Regions from separate parts of the Homo sapiens genome. Here regions 2 and 3 are each linked to region 1. The links are contacts of gene promoters, found by promoter capture Hi-C in blood cells and fetal thymus (Javierre and others, 2016). All regions are on one chromosome and are shown on one strand. Each heading gives the region's core, a stretch centred on a gene start or on the middle of the fragment in contact. The rest is flanking DNA. Distances are from core to core; before and after follow the strand shown.

What was found. Contacts are between HindIII fragments. The CHiCAGO score rates a contact against its expected background, and 5 or more counts as called.
Region 2: a fragment that was not itself captured here is called in contact with the fragment with the promoter of IL2RA in region 1 in 1 of 17 cell types (activated CD4 T cells); the score reaches 5.4 in activated CD4 T cells.
Region 3: a fragment that was not itself captured here is called in contact with the fragment with the promoter of IL2RA in region 1 in 2 of 17 cell types (activated CD4 T cells and non-activated CD4 T cells); the score reaches 6.0 in activated CD4 T cells.

Annotation. Positions count from the first base shown.
Region 1 is chr10:6,061,093-6,063,625 of GRCh38, reverse strand. IL2RA (interleukin 2 receptor subunit alpha) reads left to right here and starts at 1,259. Exons shown (of 8, transcript NM_000417.3): 1 at 1,259-1,538. The coding sequence starts at 1,475. RefSeq lists a cis regulatory region at 876-1,506 and an enhancer at 1,499-1,548. The HindIII fragment of the contact is 7,385 bases long and covers 1-2,533 here.
Region 2 is chr10:6,645,717-6,648,249 of GRCh38, reverse strand. No RefSeq gene overlaps it. Among named protein-coding and RNA genes, the nearest start is that of LINC02648, 28 kb to the right of the region's middle. The HindIII fragment of the contact is 5,986 bases long and covers 1-2,533 here.
Region 3 is chr10:6,595,946-6,598,478 of GRCh38, reverse strand. No RefSeq gene overlaps it. Among named protein-coding and RNA genes, the nearest start is that of PRKCQ-AS1, 17 kb to the right of the region's middle. The HindIII fragment of the contact is 1,813 bases long and covers 356-2,168 here.

The sequences.
Region 1 (2,533 bases), core at 10-2,509:
TGAGATGGAAGTCTCACTCTGTCGCCCAGGCTGGAGTGCAGTGGCGCAATCTCAGCTCACTGCAGCCTGCACCTCCTCGGTTCCAGCTATTCTCTTGTCTCAGCCTCCTGAGTAACTGGGATTACAGGCGCCCGCCACTACGCCTGGCTAATTTTTGTATTTTTAGTAGAAATGGGGTTTTACCATGTTGGCCAGACTGGTCTCAAACTCCCGACCTCAGGTGATCTGCCTGCCTCAGCCTCCCAAAGTGCTGGAATTACAGGCGTGTGCCACTGCGCCTGGCTAATTTTTTTTTTTTTTTTTTTTTTTTTTTTTTTTTAGTAGAGACGGTGGTTTCACCATGTCATCCAGGCTGGTCTCAAACTCCTGACCTCAGGTGATCCACCCACCTTGGTCTACCAAAGTGCTCGGATTACAGGCATGAGCCACCAGGCCCAGTCAACGTGATGTGTTTTGGAACCCTGAATTCCTTGGCTTGCCCGGAGGGTTTTCTTTTTGTTAATATCTTTGCTTGCTTTCTAGTATTTAAAAAATTGTGTTTTGCTCTAACTATGCAATGGCTTTAAGTCTTAGACAAATTTCCAGGGAGCAAAACACACTCAACCATTTCATAATAATCAGAAGAGAGCTCTGATCAATAAATAAGCAAGACTGAATTTTACAAAATAATCCAAAGTTTAAAACCAAAGCCCACTTTTTGCATGATCCTTTAAGAGAAAGAAATCTGGAAGCAAAACACCTTATAAAATGACAATGCACTTTCAGGAGCCCAGGGCACTGTGGTGAAATGATGATGGCTAGTACAGGTTATAAGCCTTGGGGAATTATTTATGAATTCTCAGGATCCTTCAGTTCGCCGCATCCTTCTCCATTATTTGAATATTGGAGGCTGCCTGACCAGAATCTTGTCAGGACTTTGCTCCTTCATCCCAGGTGGTCCCGGCTGACTCCTGAGGACGTTACAGCCCTGAGGGGAGGACTCAGCTTATGAAGTGCTGGGTGAGACCACTGCCAAGAAGTGCTTGCTCACCCTACCTTCAACGGCAGGGGAATCTCCCTCTCCTTTTATGGGCGTAGCTGAAGAAAGGATTCATAAATGAAGTTCAATCCTTCTCATCAACCCCAGCCCACACCTCCAGCAATTGAACTTGAAAAAAAAAACCTGGTTTGAAAAATTACCGCAAACTATATTGTCATCAAAAAAAAAAAAAAAAAAAAACACTTCCTATATTTGAGATGAGAGAAGAGAGTGCTAGGCAGTTTCCTGGCTGAACACGCCAGCCCAATACTTAAAGAGAGCAACTCCTGACTCCGATAGAGACTGGATGGACCCACAAGGGTGACAGCCCAGGCGGACCGATCTTCCCATCCCACATCCTCCGGCGCGATGCCAAAAAGAGGCTGACGGCAACTGGGCCTTCTGCAGAGAAAGACCTCCGCTTCACTGCCCCGGCTGGTCCCAAGGGTCAGGAAGATGGATTCATACCTGCTGATGTGGGGACTGCTCACGTTCATCATGGTGCCTGGCTGCCAGGCAGGTAAGGGCCTGTGGGTGCCCCCGGAATTCCGGGAAGGCTGATGGGCATCCCTCTTCCCAGCCACAGAACCAGAGGGAGTCCCCAGGTAGATGGTTCCAAGAAGGGAGTTGAATCTTGGGTTCCACCTCTTGCCTGTGACCCACGGGGACCCCAGTTTATGCCTCACTGTTCCTTGGTCTGTCAAGAGAGCCTGAAATAGCATTAGGTTCTCCTGTCCTTCTCAGTCCTTGACAATTAATTCTGGGAAGAATAGTGTGGCATGATATTTGGGATATTTGGATGTTAACAGGGTCCCGATGAGCAGGTTTCTCAAGAAATTATCTTTTATTCTTCAATGAATTTCCTTTTATTCTCTGCACTCCCACCCCCCAACTAAGAAGCTATCAGGAAGCTCTTTAAGTTCAGGTTAATTTGCTGGAGACATGAGTACTCATATATCAAACACTGGGAGAATTTAAGATCTCAGAAAAGTTTAGCTTCAAGGATGTATACACTGCTTTTACGTCTTAGGAAATAACACCTAGGAATTTCCTTACAAGTGCAACTTTACAGAAATTTTTAAAAATATGCATACTCACTTTTAGAACATTACTACTTCTCATAATCCTATGTATATACATGATATGTATATGTATACGTGTTTATATATGCAAATTTTAAATTTCATTCCTTGTTTCAAATGGATTTTCTCGAAGATTTTTTTTTTTTGACACTGTCTCTGTCAGCCAGACTGGAGTGCAGTGGCGCGATATTGGCTTACTGCAACCTTCGCCTCCCAGGCTTAGCGATCCTCCCACCTCAGCCTCCTGAGTAGCTGGGACTACAGGCATACGCCACCACACCTGGTTAATTTATTTTTTTGTAGAGATGGGGTTTTTGCCATGTTGCCCAAGCTGGTCTTGAACTCCTGGGCTCAAGTGATCCACTCACCCTGGCCTCCCATACTGCTGGTACTACAGGCATGAACCACCGTGCCTGGCCAATATTTTTTTTTA
Region 2 (2,533 bases), core at 10-2,509, 580 kb before region 1:
TCACCCTAATAAACCTAGTAACCCTTTGTGAGGCTACAAAAAAAAAAGGCATATTTGCTTGCCCAGGGGGCTTCTCTTCCAGTTCACCTGGGTAGAATTCTGGGTGTAGTCCCCACTTCTACCACTAGGGACCACTCCCGTCCCCAGGGACCTTGTCTCAGTCCTGGACCCACAGCATCCGTTCCAGTCCCCAGAGCTCAACCACTGGGCAGGGAAAGCTCCCAGGAAGGGGCTCGGCTTCACTGTGGTTTTCTGTGAGCCACGTTTTCTGCTTATAGACCCGGGAGGTAGGAGCTGACCCAGTCTCCCACCGGCTCCTCCTCTGGTGGTTATGGCCAAGCCAGCCTGCACACCCCTGAGGCTGGAGAGGAGCATACTGCCCAGCCCGCCGGGCCCCGCGCTGCGGCCCTCAGACCTCTCCTGTTAGCTTCAGCGCGGTTCTCGTTCTGGCCTAAGGAAGCTGCTCTTCTTCCAAACCATCTCTCTCAAAATAGGTTGCCAGCCACTATGGTCTACTAGAATTGAGTTTCCCTATTTGAAAAAAAGGTTTTGTCTTTAAAAATAAAAAAAGAAAAAAAAAAAAAAGAGTCCAAGGAAGAAGCCGATTTTATTTATATTTGATTGAAATATTATTCCCTAATCCTCCATTATCATTTTCATTTCCCTCTATCTTTCAGCATTCTTTATTATTCCAGGGGTAGACCTGCCGTGGGTCTGATCACACCATTAATAATGTGACTTAAAAGCCTGTAGGTGCACACCCGGGAAGGCTGCCTTATTGGTCGAGCACTGCAGGGCCCTTCTCAAACGGACCACCATCACTGGGCCAGAGGCACTGACCCCTGAACATTACTTATACCTCCATGAGGAACTAGTGAGGCTACAGTGCCCAGACATTTAGCCTACAAACAGTACTGATGTTTCTGTAAAGGTATTTATAGATGCAATTAACATTTAAATTATAGACTTTGAGAAAGGAAGATGGGAAGGAAGGAGGGAGGGAGGGACAGAGGAAGGGAAAGAAGGAAGGAAGGGAGGGAGGGAAAGAGAAAGAAAGAAAGAGAGAGAGAAAGAAAGAAAGAAAGAAAGAAAGAAAGAAAGAAAGAAAGAAAGAAAGAGAAAGAAAGAGAAAGAGAGAGAGAGGGAGAGAAGGAGGGAGAGAGGGGGAGAGAGAGGGAGAGAGGGAAAGGGAAAGGGGCAGGGAGGGAGGGAGGGAAAGAGAAAGAGAGAGAGAGAAAGAAAGAAAGAAAGAAAGGGGGAGAGGGAGAGAAGGAGGGACAGAGAGAGAGAGGGAGGGAGAGAGGGAGAGAGGGAAAGGGAAAGGGGGAGGGACGGAGGGAGGGAAGGAAGGAAGGAGGGACGGAGGGAAGGAAGGAAGGAAGGAAGGAGGGAAGGAGGGAGGGAAGGAAGGAAGGAAGGAGGGAAGGAGGGAGGGAAGGAAGGAAGGAGGGAAGGAGGGAGGGAAGGAAGGAAGGAAGGAGGGAAGGAGGGAGGGAAAGAAGGAGGGAGGGGGGAGGCAAAGAGGGAGGGAGAAAAAAATAACACCAGGTTGCAATGAGCGATTTCATGACTTACAAGATTTGAAAGTGGACAGACTGACAGCTTCACTGCTAAGGAGCTTCTAAGCTGAAATGAAAACTGGAATCCCAGACTTTTTCCCACATCTGCCTCCCACGTTGCTGTGCATATAAGCACTAGGTTTCTGTCCCTCTGACTTCACAACAGAAAAGTAGATACTGGAATTCCTCTATATATCACCTTTTTAACCACTGCTATATCTTTCTGGGGCTCTTGCTAAAGTAGTAAGATTAATTTATATGATGAAAAGTGTTTTTCTTTTCTTTTCCTTTTTTTTTTTTTTTTTTTTTTTTTTTTTTGAGATGGAGTCTTGCTCTGTTGCCCAGGCTGGAGTGCAGTGGTGTGATCTCAGCAAACTGCAACCTCCGCCTCCGGAGTTCAAGTGATTCTTCTGACTCAGCCTCCTGAGTAGCTGGGATTACAGGCGTGTCCCACCAGGTCCGGCTAATTTTTGTATTTTTAGTAGAGATGGGGTTTCACCATGTTGGCTAGGCTGGTCTTGAACTACTGACCTCAAGCAGTCCACCCCACCTCGGCCTCCCAAAGAGCTGGGATTACAGGCATGGACCACCACGCCCGGCCTGAAAGTGTTTTTCTACAGGACACATTAGCACTTTCAACAACCACTAGTTCAGAGCCTCAGAAGTCCCTAAAAAGTGGTTCGCAACCCTGGGGGCACATGGAAATCACCAGAAGAGTTTGTCAAAGCTAGCGATGCTCCAGCCCCATCAAAAAGTATTAACTCAGAATCCTCTGTGTAGACCATGCAGAGGAAACTCCTTTAAGCTCCCGTAGTGACCCAGCCATGCAGCCAGAGTGGAGAAACCCCATCCTGAAAAACCAGGAGTGGGCCACCACCACTATTTGTCCCTGAACTGATGTCACAGTCATTGTTCAGTGGAGCTTGTAGTAAATTGGCTAGCACAGGCTTATTTCTCAGCTTGACTCTCAGCTT
Region 3 (2,533 bases), core at 13-2,512, 530 kb before region 1:
AATAAATGCCACCAAGAAAAAAATACTATCTTTAGGGAAGAGGTGGAACTTGAATTGGATGTGCAAAAAAAGGATTGGATTGGCAGAGGAGTAGAAAGGGAATTCCAGGCTGAGGATTGGTTTTAGCAAAAGTGCAGCATGGGAATGCATGTGGCATGTTCAAGAATTAATTAGGCAATGAGTTTAGGATAGAGAATATTTATGGAAATAGAGGGAGATAAATTTAAAGAAATAGACTGGGACTATACTACGAAGGATGATAAAGACCAGAAAAAGGAGTCTGAATGTTTATTCTATAACCCATAAGGTCTTATTGGCTATTTGGTGACTCAAACTATCAATAAGCCTTGAAGCTTGCAGACCAGAACTAACAAAATATCCCAGATAATATAGATGAACACAAGGAAGACTGCAGTGTGCTCTTGAACCACACAACTGCTACTCACAATTCTTTCGAATAATAAAAGGTGAAGGTGAGAACTTTAAGAAATGCTTAAAAGAAGGGGAAATAAAATAAAAATTGGGATGTCAGAGAGCTATATGCACTCCCATGTTCCCTATAGCAATATTCACAATAGCCAAGATATGGAATAACCTCTGTCCATCAAGGGATAAATGACAAAGAAAATGTGGTATAAGTAAAGCCTTAAAGAAAAGAAAAATCTATCATTCTTGACAACATGAATAAACCTGGAGGACATTATGCTGGGTGAAATAAGGCCGGCAGAGGAAGAGCAATACCACATTATCTCAAAACATCTCATGATGTGGAACATAAAGACGTCAAACTCATAGATGCAGAGAGTAGAATGGTGGTTACCAAGGACTGGAGGTGGGGGGGGAAATAGGGGATTGTTAAACCATACAAAATTTCAGTTCGACAGGAGGAACAAGTTCAATATATCCATTCTACAACATGGTGATTCTGGTTAACAGCAACGTGTCGTATACTTGAAAATTGCTCAGAGATTTTAAATATTCTCACTACAAACAAATGAAAACTGTTTGAGGTAATGTACATGTTAATTAGCTTGATGTAGCCATTCCACAATGTACACATATTTCAAAACATCATATTGTGCACCATAAATAGACACGGTTTTTAAAATTTCTCAATTTGAAAAAATGTTTTAGAGAAGAAAGCAAAGAAGACAAAAAGCAAGACCTTACTGCTGAGCCTGAATCCACCGGCCTGGATACCAGTGGATTTTCCTGAATGAAGTCACTGATTTTTTTTTTTTAAGTAATCATTACTTTTCAATTCTAGGACTTAGAAAATGCTTGTAACATATTTGCAAGGCAGTAAAGGATTAGTCACTGAATATATCAATGTGTTAAAATGATAAAATAATTAGGCAGGCAAGATGGAAAAGGAAAAAGGCTTTAAAATCTGCAGCGGAAGGATGGATTTAGATAGCTGCCTCATACCTCCTCCTTCTTGTTTTATATTTTTAATCCTGTTAAAAAAAATCACTCCCTCAACAAATATTCTTTGAATGGTGACTGTGTATCATGGGAAGGTTACTGGAGGCACAGGCTTAAAGTCAACACTGCTTTCAAATCTACACTCTGCCATCTACTCACCCATGGTTTTTGCAAATTGTGCGTATTTTCTGATCCTCAATTTTCTTTTCTGTAAAACAAAGATATAATATCTACCTCATAGTCTAATGTAAGAATCATATTTATAAAAGTTCTATAATATGCAATCAATTAATGGAAACTTAAAGATTAAAAAGTTTCATTTTCCATATCATCAAAAAAATGGAAAGATAAATTACTGTATGATAGGGCATTTGCTAATTTCCTAGCTATAATTTCAGCAATTGTGATAGGCTCTGCCTACAGAAATAATTTTAGTTGGAATTTAAATATCTCTATTAAATCTTTAAATTTCATTAGGAAACATAAATTCTGACTTCTCATTTAAAGATGGCCTATCCAATGTCCATGTATTTAGTTTCTCTGCTTCTCTGACTTAAAAAGAAATGGTATACTGAAAGTTATTTATTTGTTTCACATAATTCTACTTAAATCGCTTGAGATATCTGCTTTCTAGCTTCTCATTTAAAAAATCTCTCAAGTAATCTTGAAATACACAGTAACTTTTATTTTGATTTTCCCATTCAGCTTGGTGTTTAATTCTTTGAGATTCAGTGATTCAAGCTTTTAGTAAATTACCATTATGATTCTATTACATCATCAACTCCAGAATCATAGTACCAAGAGAAAAAAAATATATAAACTCACAAGTTTAAATTTGCTACAACTAATTATTGAAAAAAGCATTTTAATACTAAATCAGATTTTTAAGGCAGAGATCATACAACTGATACAAACTCCAAAAATTAGCAAAATCCCTGACACTCATTAATAAGCTCATTGTCTTTGATAGTGTCGTAATGATGTTTTTATTACATGAAAAGCTTTGTATAAGTTGGAAAAATACTTACGAGACATCATCAAATGTCTTTTTTTAACCTACATAAAAATAGCAACTAAAAAAGCACATCAGAAACATAATACCCTCAGT